2 separate regions of the Homo sapiens genome follow, and region 1 is linked to region 2. Evidence: promoter capture Hi-C in 16 types of primary human blood cells and fetal thymus (Javierre and others, 2016). All regions are on one chromosome and are shown on one strand. Each heading gives the region's core, a stretch centred on a gene start or on the middle of the fragment in contact. The rest is flanking DNA. Distances are from core to core; before and after follow the strand shown. Region 1 has its middle 19 kb from the start of TRIM21. Region 2 holds the start of OR52K1 (olfactory receptor family 52 subfamily K member 1).

Evidence for each region. Contacts are between HindIII fragments. The CHiCAGO score rates a contact against its expected background, and 5 or more counts as called.
Region 1: a contact is called between a fragment that was not itself captured here and the fragment with the promoter of OR52K1 in region 2, in 1 of 17 cell types (monocytes). The highest score is 6.3, in monocytes.

Annotation. Positions count from the first base shown.
Region 1 is chr11:4,409,052-4,415,793 of GRCh38, forward strand. No RefSeq gene overlaps it. Among named protein-coding and RNA genes, the nearest start is that of TRIM21, 19 kb to the left of the region's middle. The HindIII fragment of the contact is 2,872 bases long and covers 1,980-4,851 here.
Region 2 is chr11:4,480,958-4,487,573 of GRCh38, forward strand. It overlaps OR52K1 (olfactory receptor family 52 subfamily K member 1), which reads left to right and starts at 1,689. Exons shown (of 2, transcript NM_001005171.3): 1 at 1,689-2,219. The HindIII fragment of the contact is 19,878 bases long and covers 1-6,616 here.

The DNA.
Region 1 (6,742 bases), core at 2,166-4,665, 70 kb before region 2:
ACAGGAACAGAAAACCAAACACCACATGTTCTCACTCATCAGTGGGAGTTGAACAAGGAGAACACATGGCAACAGGGAGGGAAACATCAATACAGGGGCCTGTCTGGGGGTGAGGGGCTAGGGGAGGGATAGCATTAGGAGAAAAACCTAATGTAGATGATGGGTTGATGGGTGCAGCAAACCACCATGGCATATGTATACCTATGTAACAAACCTGCATGGTCTACACATGTATCCCAGAACTTAAAATAAAGTATAATAAAAAAGATGCTGAAACAGTGAAAAATAAGGCCCACTGTTTTGTATATAACATGTCACTTAAACCGCTCCAGATTGTTTTAGTATCTCAATTTTATAGAGTGGAAACTGATACTTTTAGAGGCTCAGTATCTATTCTGGGGCCACTTGGCTAATAAGGAGTTTTAGTTCTGTCTGATTTCATATCCAGTTAACTACAATGCTGGCAAGACTTTTATGTCTATATATTTAAGGCTAACACATCCTCAAAGTCTCCAATACCATCCTCTCTTACACAAAGTCTTATTTCTCTGTTATTGGCTAGGGTGTAGTGTAATGTAGCAATTCAGTTTTCACATATGGTTTACTGTGTTTTAGGGTCATAGCTGCTTGAGAACAGAATTGGTACCTGGTTAACCTCTAAGTAAAGCACAGTGCATAAAGAAACCCCAATTTTGTGAACCACTGAAAAGACTATTGAAAATGTAGATTTTAGAATGAAGAAAACACACTGGGACTGCAGTGAAACAGAGAGAACTGCAGAGTTCCAGGACATCTGTAACTGAGCCTTTCACCTGTAGGCTACCCTCTCTATGTTGGAGATTGAGGACGAGGGGATGGCTGAAGTGGGTGAATGGCAGTAGTCTCCATACGAGCAGATAGAATTGATCTTGTGTTTCACCTGTCTACTTCCATTTATCATTTTCTCTCATATCCCAGATGTGACAGACAATCTGACTGTGGCCACATTTATTAGTTTTAAGGCAAATGAAGGATTCTAGAGACAGGCTGTAGAGAAGCTAAAGAAAATATTTCATCAGAGAGAAGTTAAATACTTCTGAAGTATTTCAGCAAAATACACATACAAATCCTTTAAAAATTTCTTATTAACTTTAGAGACTGAAACTTGTTAAGAACCTGTGAAATTTCTGACTTAAATTTCAATGCATGAACATAGGATGTGTGACAGATACGAGAATGCCTGTATTGGGTTGCAGCCCACGGAGGTCTGAGATTGGTCTCCAGGTTGGAAGGACAACTTGGATGATCTCAGGAACTAAGGGACTTGAGCAGACTGAACTTTGAAATTTTCTCTTCCCTAATCTCCAGGACACACTGGGACCTGCAGTGAAACAAAGGACATCTGTAGCAAAGCCTTTCAACTCTAGATTGTCCTCTCCATCCTAGAAATGGAGGAGGAAGTGATAGCTGAAGTTGGTTAATTAAATGCTCTGATCTTCTGTAAAATACCTAGCCAGTGTTCTTCAAGACTCTCAAGGTCATGGAAACCTTGGAAAAACTGAGAAACTTCCATCTCAGACCAGAGGACACTAAGGAGAAATAATGAGTAAATGCAATTTGATATCCTGGATTGGATCCTGGAACAGAAGAAAGACATTGGAAAAGCAGGTGAAATCCAAATAAAGTGTGGACTTTAGTTAATAGCGATGTACCAATATTAGTCCTTTGGTTTTGACTAATGTACTATGGTTCTGTAAGATGTTAACATTAAGGAAAATGGGTGAAGGACATTCAGAAACTCCGTAAACTATATTTGTAACTTTTTTGTAAATCTAAAATTATTCCAGAATAAAACTTATTAAAAAAAAAACAAAAACAAGCTCTGACCATGAATTGTGGGGGAGGGTTAGTATGACATGCTGGCCATAGAGGAATCCAGACAGGTTATTGAACCAGTTCTCAGTTTCCTATTGGAGAGGAAGTTATGTGTGGAGCTTGCAAGCTTTTTTTTTTTTTTGCACCCTTTGTATATTCTAATATAATACTAACAATGATCTCATGAAATAACCATCATCCCTAGTTTATGAATAAAGAATAAGAGGCTCAAGGAGATAATTTGCTCACAGTTGACAAGTGACAGATTCTGAAATAGATCGTGGCTTTTTCACTATATTATGCTTGATAAATAATCTCCAAAGGTGTTACTGGGAGAAAGGGATATTGCTTTATCAATATAGATTTTCAGTCACCTACATTCTCTAGGTACAGGCATAAAGTTAGACAGAGAAGCTCTTTTCTCTTCGCTAACTTGCTCTTGTGTTTAAAGCACTCATGCACATCTCTTTGGCTACACTGCCTGATATCTCTTTGGCAGAATTTGAAAAGAGCCTGTGTTCATTCTTTCTAGAAGCAGGAATTACTCATGGCCTCTGTTATCCCTAAAGGACAGAGTGTGTCTCAGTCTCTAACCATCCTCTTTCCCCCAACTAGCCTCCATTTGCCACCAGGCAATTCATAGCCTGGCTCTTTGGAAAGAGGAGGTACGCAGTATGGGACATCTTTTTTTTTTTTTTTTTTTTTTTTTTTGAGACAGAGTCTCGCTCTGTCACCCAGGCTGGAGTGCAGTGGCACAATCTTGGCTCACTGCAAGCTCTGCCTCCCGGGTTCACGCCATTCTCCTGCCTCAGCCTCCCAAGTAGCTGGGACTACAGGCACCTGCCACCACGCCTGGCTAATTTTTTCTATTTTTAGTAGAGACGGGGTTTCACTGTGTTAGCCAGCATGGCCTCGATATCCTGACATTGTGATCTGCCCGCCTCAGCCTCCCAAAGTGCTGGGATTACAGGTGTGAGCCACTGCCTCCAGCCATGGGACATCTTAATATCCTTCTGGTGCCCTCTAAGAAAAATCCTCAGGTGTGAATCATTAGGATACACTGCCTGATGCATCCTTCCATGTCCCAGAGCTGCCTGGCTCAGAACTCAGGGGGTTCAGGAAGTTAAATTGTGGAAATCTCTTGGATTTGCACCTGGATCCCAGCAGACCTGTTATTTCCCTACCTCCATCAAGAGGATTATAAAGTGTTGACTTTTACTGACACAGCAAGAATTACTTTCACAGAGAAACAGATGAGAGGAGATACAAGCTCTGGAGGTGTGGTAAGTTCAGGGGCTAGAGTGTCAAATCTGGGGTCTGGGCTGGGGAGCCTGAGCTCTGAGGCCTTGGACCACTGGCCTGAATGGAATCTGTTTAGGGTGGGCAGCTTCGGGTCCTTCCATAACCTGAGAAGAGAGAGTTACTTAAGGCCTTTACTGATCCTCCTTCTTATAAAATAATGAGTTTGGGTGGGTATTTGTGATGGACTGTTATCACAACATTACCTTTTTTGGGCTGGACTATTCCTTGATGATCCAGGAACATGGTCATCTCATGATTAAAGGCAACGATGTTCCTCTTCAATCCTCAACCAACTGGTCAAATATGAGAAAAACAATGTATCTATGGTCCTCCAGGTTCATCTGCGGTGGCTGCTCGTAGCATAGGCTGAATTTGATAGGTGTCCTGAATCCTACTGTGGGACTTCTGCTTGTGGGACAGAAACAGGCCTACAGTATGGACTCTGCCTCAACCTTGGGTCTAGCTGCTTTGATGAAACCTCCCCTTCGATGACATATTCTGACTAGTTTGAGGAGGGACAGAGGGGAGCCACCCTCCATCTTATCCTAGGCTAACTCAAGTCAGAAGGCTGTCAGCTATGTAATAGCTGATCATTGTTACCACTTATTCAGGTCTTAGGATTTCTTCATGAGCTCCTTTAACCTCACCGCCACTCAATGACAGAAGTTCTCTTATTTCCCTCAGGACAAGAACACAGGACATAGAAGAGTTAATAAATTTGCCCACCGTCTTACAATTAATAAGTAGTAAAGCCAGGATTTAAACTCAGACAGTTTGGGTCTAGAGCACACACTTCTAACCCTGTGCTGCCTACCTAGGATAAAATATATAAAATATACCAACCTGTCCCAACCTTTGAAATGCCAATATGAGATGCATGCTTTTAATAAACTACACATTATTTGTGCTATTAAAAATATTCAAGGAAGTTAAAGAGAGATTACATTTGCAAATATCTCAGCAGCTAATAGATAGATTAGCAGTATCTGTACTCTGGAGGGAAGATGACAGAAGGCCAGGTTACAAAAATTCACAGGAGCCAGTGATTTACATACAAAGGCCTCTGTACGAGGCTGAGTCTATTTATCTATCTATCTATCCATCCATCCACCCATCTGTCACTTAAAATTTAATGTCTTTCAATACTAGAGATATTCCTGATCCACTCCAGACCCTGGCTTCACCAGTTAAATTTAATCAAGGATTTTGGTTGCCAACTATGAAAGTGAGACAATATTTCTATGGTCAGATTTAAAGAGGATCTACTGTTTAAAAATATTTAAAGAGATTAAAGCACAGAATTTAACAAAATAGGTTCAGATTTATTTAATAATGATTTTTTTTCTATATGGATCTTAATTCTATACATAAACTAAAACCCTTGGAGAAGCTCCAGTTTTATTTTAGTCAGATCTCACTGCGATTTCATTGATAGCTTTCAGGATCCAAGTCCTGTGTTAAAACCCAATGGCAACTCCTTAGTATTTCTCAGTTTTTAAATGGTGTGGGGAGGAAGGAGCTGTGGAGAAAAGGAACCTTCCCCACACATCCTGCGTTCATCCCTATGACATAAAGCTGTCTGTTTGAAGCAACATGGGTGGAGGGGGTCTGAGTTGTTCTGGAGGGAGCTGGGGACCCTGTGGAGAGCTTGTGACTTCCTGGATACAGGTACTTGGCCTGGGCAGGTTTATGCTAAGCTTATTTCTGAGCAGAGCAGGATTAGACCTAATTTTGGCTAACGCACAACAGCGTCATGGGCTTGGGGAAAATGTGGGCTCCCAGCTCCTGACAGTCTTAGCTAGGCTAGGGATGCAGTTCTAGGGCCCATTTTTCTGTAACTTTCTTCTTGGCCCCAGGACTCAGCTGGCAAGGCCAGAGGCTTAAAAGCCTCACATTCCCTTGAGTACTGGTTGCCATAGAAAGCTTCTTGGTGGAGGAGGGTCCCCAACCTTCTCTAATCTGGGTCATCTCCTTGTAGTGACTCCTATCTTGGCTCTTGGGGATAGATTTCACCTGATTAGAGAAAGAAATAGTCTTTGCACTATTCATGGTCTTTTGGAAACTGGATGAGTAAGATGGTACAGGGGCAGAGACTGTAGTTTAATTTTATTCCATCTCCTTAGAGGGGTCTGTTTAGTCTATCTATCTACCTATCACCCACCTACCTATCATGCAACTACTTAGCTACCATCCATCTACCTATCCATCCATCAATCTATCTATTGATCCATCTATCAATCTATTCATCATCCATGTATCCTCTATCTCCATCTATCTCCATTGTTTTTTCTTTCCACAGTTTATCATGTTTTTCTATTGTTCTCTCAGGAGATTACAGCTTTGAGGAGAATTTTTTCTTCCTAAGCTATGAGTCTTTAATTAAACTCACACAGTATGCAACACAGGGACGGTCAATAAGCACATGGGCCCGTTACAGTCTTAGGACTTTTCTCTGGGGACCCTCAAGGACAGATGCATGTAAGTGGTCAGGGAGGAGGCAGGAGTGGTATAGGAGAACATCTTGTAAATACTTCTTCCTATTTCATCTTGCTTAGGGATGGATATTTTCAGCATTAACAACGTTAATAATCATCATAACTAACAGAAAGCAGCAGTATTACACAATGCCCTGACCTTGATAATTGCTCCAATGTATAATAATTAGACTGTGGTGTGACTTGTGTTTGATGGAGACATGCACTGAACCCAGCTTGGGGACACTGGAGGATGCCGACAGGTAAATGACTCCCTCTAGGAACACTTCCTTAGCCAGTTGTATCCCCACAGTTTACTCAGAAGACATGTCTGAAGGACAGGTGCAGAAGAGGGAATGATGGAATTTTGATATTGTCCAATGGCTTATCTTTCCTTTATAAACAAGTGCCCTGAAGGAGTCTTAGACTTTCACTGAATATAAAAGTGAAGCGAACTAATACTGTGATGAATACACTAAGTGTTAGGCATTATGTGAGGCCTGTAACTACAGGATTAAGCTGGTTCATGCACAAAGCTATTGAAAACAGACTCAGGAAATAGAAACCTGTCAAGGTTATATAACTTTCATAAAATGGCAATTAGAAAGTGGCCCAGCCACTTAAACACATAAAATGTACAGTGGTTATTCAGAATAGAGAACACATACAAGCAATATGAAAAATGCAGGCGACCCAATAGAAAAATGAGTAAAAGACTGAAAACTTCCTAAAAGAATATATTCAAATAGTAAACATATGGAAAGCTGCTTACTTTATTAGAAATCAAGGAAATATACGTTAAAACCACAAGAAAATACCATTACACACCCATAGAATAGCTGTAATTAAAAAGACCAACCAAAGTATTGATGAGGATGTGGAATAATCAAACTCTCCTACAGTGTTGGTGTGGGTATAAATTGGTAAATCACTTTTGAAAGCTGTTTGGAAGAATATGTGAAAGCTGAATGTATGCATAGCTTATGATAAATCAATTTCATTCCTAGGTAATACTCAACAGAACTGCAAACGCATTCATAAAAGATATATATTTGAGTGTTCACAGCAACACTATTTATAATAGTTCCACACTTGAAATGACCTAAATATCT
Region 2 (6,616 bases), core at 439-2,938:
ATTCACAGGATCAACAATAAGACTGATATTAATAGATACTTGACTTCAAAAAAAGCAAGTGAAGGCAGAATACAATTAATATACTAAAGTGGATGAAAGAAGAATTGCCCATTTAAAAACCTATTCAAATTGAAATAGAATTTTAGACAGAGGCCCGGGAGGTGAGTCATCTTTCACAAACAAAGATGACTAAGATAATTTTACAAATGAGCAAAAGTTGATGGAATGTGTCACTATATGGCCTGTAATAAAAGCAAAAATAAAAGTAGTTTTTCATGCAGAAAAAAAATGATCCAGATGGAAACATGAAAAACCTGGAGGGAATGAAGAACACCAAAACAAAGATGCATATGAATGTAAAAGAATCTAGATTTTACAAAAGAAAAGATAGGGTGGGGAGGATGTCAATGAATTAAACAGTCTAAGTGTTCCAATATTCCAGCAGTTATCTCCAGCATGGTTTGAGCCAATGGCCCCACTGCCCACTCCCCCACTCCATGTGCTTCTTATCCTGCTCCTATGATGTCAGGATTGCCCATTCAGAATGGAGTTGGGGGCAAATTAAGGTGCTTTGTTCACAAAAACACTGTCTATTCTATCTGGCTCTTGTCTGGCTTTTATCTGGCTTTTGCCATATTAGGTTTTGGTGAGGTGCTTTTCATACAGGCTGTATCCCCTTGGCCTAGCTGTACATTGTTAAAACTATGTAGGAATTCCACTTTATCCCAGCATCCCAAAAGATCAGACTTATCATGGAGGAGTGCTGAGTCCACACCCTTGAGGGCCAACTATTACAGAAGGGGAAGTTAGTTCCAGGGTACCTGTGTGGGAAGGGAGTGAGATGACTGAGTTACAGCGTTCTGAGATTGCTTTTAAAAATTATGGGGAATTAGGGTAGACAAAATCCATGGAGAACTCTAGTGAAAAGCATCTTCTCAGGTCCTTGAAAAATAGCACACATTAAGTCAGCTGTAGGTAGAAAGATCACTCTTTATCATTTATAGATGATTGGTAATTTCCTAATTATTAATAAGGAATCACATTCATAGTGGCCTCTTGTTTATCTACTTAGATCCTCCTATCCTTGTGAGTTAGAAAATATTGTAAAAGTTATCTCTACCTTAGAGATAAGAAAAATAGATCAGGGATCAGACAGGTGCCAGATCAAGTTCACGAGCTGGTTATTAATGCATATCTCAGGCCAATATGAAATATGAATGCAAAATAAAATGCCTAATGGATGACCTTGGCCTGGTCAGGCTGGACTCCCTGCCCTTTCAAGTCAGTTCTGACAGGAGTTGCCTGCAGTGTATATTTTCTGATGAGGCTGGCTTTCTTTGAAGACACTGTAAGGATAAAGAGTAAGGAGAGGCACAGCAAACACCAAGACACAAGCCAGCTCCACCTGAAAGTCTCACAGCCTCTGGCAAGTAGGGCATGACCCCTGGTAGGCACAACTCAGTGCCACTAGCTGGGGAGGAGGCATGGGTTGTAGGAAACAAGGATACAGTCCCCTTGGGTCAGGGGAAGTCCCCTTGCATCAACCCAGAGAGAGGAGGCCAGAGATGTCTCTGAGGACTCTGCTCAAGTGCAGCAGTTTCTGCTTCCACAGCCTTCTGGGAGAAGGGCAGAGGTTGGTGAGGATTAAAGCCAGCTGCTCGCTTCCCAGCTTCCTCCTTCTAAGACTCCTTAGACTGAAAGAGGAAGGCGGCACTGGTGCTGCATGAAGCTAATGAAAAGGGCCCAGGATTGTAAGTCAGACTGAGGACTGTGGATACAGCTGCAACTTAGGGAAATAGAAAACAAGTGATGTTATTGGGGTGAGCAGGAAGGTGGGAGTGAGCTGGAAGGTGGGGGCACTGTCAATTTCTTCCCATAGCCATTCCTGATCTTAGGCATCAGCTCTCCAACCCTGTTATTGCTTCTACTCTGGTCCTTCAATAGAGGGAACAGAAGTCTCGATAGTCCCACCCAACTGTTTGGTACACAAACTCCAGATGCTCTCCCCACCACAGAGGATGCCTGCTTCCGTCCTATGCCAAACACTGTGGGCCATCTCCAAGAAGTCTTAGTTGATTATTCCAGTTTGGATCTGTCACTTCTCACCTCCTGTCATTGCTTTTTCTAACCCCTGGCAAATGCCCCATCCCAGTTAAAGGGCTTCTGCATTAGTCAAGAGGAAGAAAACGAGGCCTGAACTAGAAAGATGGCAGGGAAAGGTAAGAAATACCTTATCTTTGAGGTTCTTCTACCAGAAGCAGTCCTGAAGTATCTTGATTATGTGATTATCCTTCCTTGTCTGGTTCTAAGTTTTTCAGATATGTCATTCTGATATCCTTTTAAGATAAAGGTATAGGCAACCAAATAGATTCAGTATTAATTGAGTCCATTCTGGGTACAGAGGCCTTTTTTAAGGAGAAATAGAAGATAAATCCTTTGAGCATGGACATCTTAGTTCTGAAAACAATGAACAGTCTGGACAAAACTTGCACTACAGAGGAGGTCTTAGTTTCTGGATATTAGGGGAAGAAGACTGGCTCCATTCACACTCCTACTCAGAGCACTTCATTCTGAGGAGTTGATTTTAGATGAACTTCAAAGGAAGTAAGATTTATGAACTATTAGACACCCTGTCTTTTCAGGAAGAAATCTGATAGAAGAGATGCCTTTTTTTCTTGTATGAAGATGGGTAGACAGCTCACAGGGTGGTTAGTGATGTTTAAAAGTTGAATGGAGGAATCTAGGGGGACATGGAGACTCAAAGTAAAACATGTGGGTTTTGTGGAAAATACATATTGAGATAAGGTAAAGATGCAGCAGGTTTGTGGGATTATTTCACAGTATTTTAGAAGAGTTTCTTAGACGCCAGGCATGTTTCTAGGTACTGATATGTACTTGAAAATAAAAATGTCTGTTGTCATAAGAGCTTGTTCCTGACAAAAATGCACAAACATTATGAATATTTAAAATAGTATTTTCCATTAAGAAGAGAATTTTATTCTGATGCAGGTAACAAAGTATTGTAATCGGGATGCTTAGAACCTCCATTCTGGATGCATTTTAAATGAGAAGATAACCCAAATTCTGAGCTTAAATCACATGAGGGGAGTAGTATTCTGAGAAATATGTCTTCCAATAATCTAGTAGTCTGTTTTATTTAGTGAAATGTTCCACACCTATGTATGTTAGAGGCTGGGTTTACAGAAGGAAAATAGGTAGAGTTTCTTAACTCCAGTCCCTTCACTTCATGATATGGTGGGTAATTGTTGAAGGATAAATATTGGAGAACAAAGTGGAACTTTGTGTACTTGTTAGGATTCTTTTGTAGCAGTAGTTGCTGGGAGATGCTGTGGCTTGAACAAGGGTGATGGTGTTGGAAGGGTGGAAGTGTTGGAAACGCAATGGGCAACGTGGAGATTTACTATGTAGGATGATCCAGTGTGCTTGCTGATGATTAAATATGATGCAGGAAGAAAAGAGAAGAATCCAGGATGACTTGATTCTAGGTTGAGCAACTGGTTGGGCAGGATGTTACGTTCTGAGATATGGGCAGCACAAGAAGAGAAGTAGTCATGATTTCTGCCTCAGGCATGGCAGGTTTGACATATCTGTGAGGAAGATATGTGGGGATATCGAGTATGGAGTTGGATATCCTAGTCTGGAGCTTACAAGGAATGTAAGGTATGTAAATTTGTGTTTGTTTCAGGATATGTTTATATTCTCAATGATCAACCAGCAGACCACCTAGAAAGATGCAATATTCACGGTCTTTTCAGGAGCAGTATTCTCTTTCTTCGTCTAAGTTTCAACTTTTCCCCTACTACTGGATAATTTGCTTCAGCTAAAGACATGATACTTCTGTTCTAAAACACACAGACACACACACACACACACACACACACACACACACACAGTTGACTTCGCTTTCCATTTTAGCCAGTGCCCTATTTACTTGCTGTCCTTTGCTTCCAAATTCCTCAAAAAAGTTAGCCATGTTAACAAACTTCAATTCCCCTCTTATCTATTCTAACTCAGTCAAGTCAGGCTTTGCCTGTCTCTCTTCTAGCAAAATTGCTTTTATCAAGGTATCCAATCCTCTTGTGCAATTCTAAACACAAGGCCAATTGTGTTTTCAAGTTCTTTGACTCATCAGTAGCATTTTACATGGTAATAATCCACTTGTTAGTAAACTATATTCTATATACTAAGATAGTACATTATTTGGGGATGTTTCTATCTTAATAGTTTCCACTGTCAGTTTCCCTTGCGAATATCTCAGTGTGCTCCAACTCTTCTCCCATCCATTCTTAATGTTGGGATTCAGTTCTGGGTTCTCTAGTTCTCTTTTCTGTGAACATTTACTGTCTGGGCGATCTCAAACAGTTTTGTGGCTTTAAATATGATTTATTTTCTATACGTATTACCATATTCACTTGAATTTCTGATATCTCAAACTCACCATGTTCAAAAATTGAAGTCTCGAGCTCCTCCTTTCATGCTTTCCCCGTCTCAGTTGGGAGCAGCTCCTATCAGTGGTTTATGCCAAAAATCAGGGTGTCATCTTCGACTCCCTGTTGTCTCACTTCCTATATCTAACCTGTCAAAAATGCCACTGACACATTTTAAAAATATATCCCCAATCCTATTACTTCCCACTACATACACTGCTACCTTGATTCTGAGCCAATGTTCTCCCTTCCTTGGATTCCTGCAATAGTCTCCAGGTACTTTCCCCCAATTCTACCCTTCCCTCTTTGTGCTATTCTCCATCATAGATGCCAGGGAAAACTTTAAAAGTATAAGTCACATACATCTCCTCTCTGCTGAAAACAATGTCCTTGATTCTGAGAGAAATGGGGAACTTTTGCAAAGTCCACAAAGGCCTGTGGGGCCCTGTGTGATTTGGCCCCACTGTTCTGACCTGATTCTCCTGCTCATTTGCTTCATCCTACCTGTGCTGGCTGCCTGCTGATATTTGAATAACAGGTGTTTTTATGTCTTGGGGCATTTTCTCTGGCTGTTCCATTTTCTTAGACTGTTCCTTTCCCCTGGGTGACTCCTATATTCCAAATCTATTATGGTCTTCTCATGTCCTGTCATCTCCCCTTTTTGTTGTAGGCATTGTTGTGGGAACCATTCGAGTGCAGGTGTAGGTTGATAGCACCTTACTCAGCTGTATCCCACCTCCCACAGTTTCTCTGCTTTATTGCATGGGCACCTCAGGGATCTCATTGTGTTATTCTGGTACATGTATGGACCTGAAAATGCAAGGAAATCTACACTCCTTGGGTCATCCTTGACCTATGGGGTGTGGAAGCCAGTGGATAAAAGTTCCCCTCTTCTGTGTCTAGAGTGGACAATTCTTTGGTTCCTTCTCTATGGTTCTTCATGTGGAATTGGATTATCCATCTCAGTAAGGCAACTTTGGATCCATATTCTCTTTCCTGTTCCACTCCTTCATCCTATTCTTGTTCACTGTGTAATTGTTCTGTATATACCACTGGCATGAAACTTTAGTTTGGCATTTAAGGAAGTGAAGCCAAGTATTTCCTCACCTCATTCAATTTTTCTCAAATTTTCTAATAAGGTGTATAATGAGCTTTTTATTTCAAATTTCAACTTCTCCTGCTCCCTATCATGAAATGCCTATCATAACTGCCCTATTCCTTGGTTTTTAAATCACAACAATGAAACTTTGTATAATATGTAATTTAATCATGATGTCCTTTTATTATCCTTCTCCAACCTTTAGCAAACTTATTCTACTAAGGGATCCATCTGTTTTGTTCATAAATTTTTCCTTAACCTCTTCAGTAAAAATGTTTAAATAGTTGTCATTAAATTTAGTTAGTATATTTTCTGAATGACATGGATATAAAATTTGAAAAGATGCTTGAGAACTGTAGAAATGTAATACTTACAGTTAGGGCAGAAGCAGGAGAAGGAAGTGAGACACTCTGGAGCTGGGAAACGGGAATATGGTGGTACACGAGAAAAGTGAGTTTTAAGCAGGAGAGTGGTCAATTCAGATAAAAGTTGCTCAGCGGTCCAGTTGCATGAAGCCAGGTAAGTGATAAGGGCACCATCATCATGGAGGTCATTGATTGTCACAGTAAAAGGAATTTTTGGTTTGTGATGGGAATAAAATCCAGATTGATATGTTTCAAAACCAATTATCCTTGAGAGAGTTGAGATTGTAGACCTTTCTACATGTTTCACTGTAAAGAAAAGCAGAGGTTTGAATAAAGGGAGGAGGATTTAATGTCACGGTAGATTAATCAACATAAATAATTTTTTAAAAAGTAACAGTTCTACAGAAGAGAAATATAAGTGACAAAGCTCTGCACACTAAGGAATTATACAAAATGATTTTATACATAATCACACTTAACCTCCCTATACCCCTCAGATAAAGGGAAATAGCACTGAACTACCTTTAACAGAGAAGGAAACAAACTAGTACATAAGTGATTTGTGCAAGGTCTACCACTAGAATATGTGGCAGTCATGATTTCAGCCAATAACTTTAGATTCTAAACATTTTCCAAATGTTATGGAAGGAAGTTAGTTTTCAGTTTGGTTATGCTGGATGCAGGTTGCATATAGGGCATCTAGA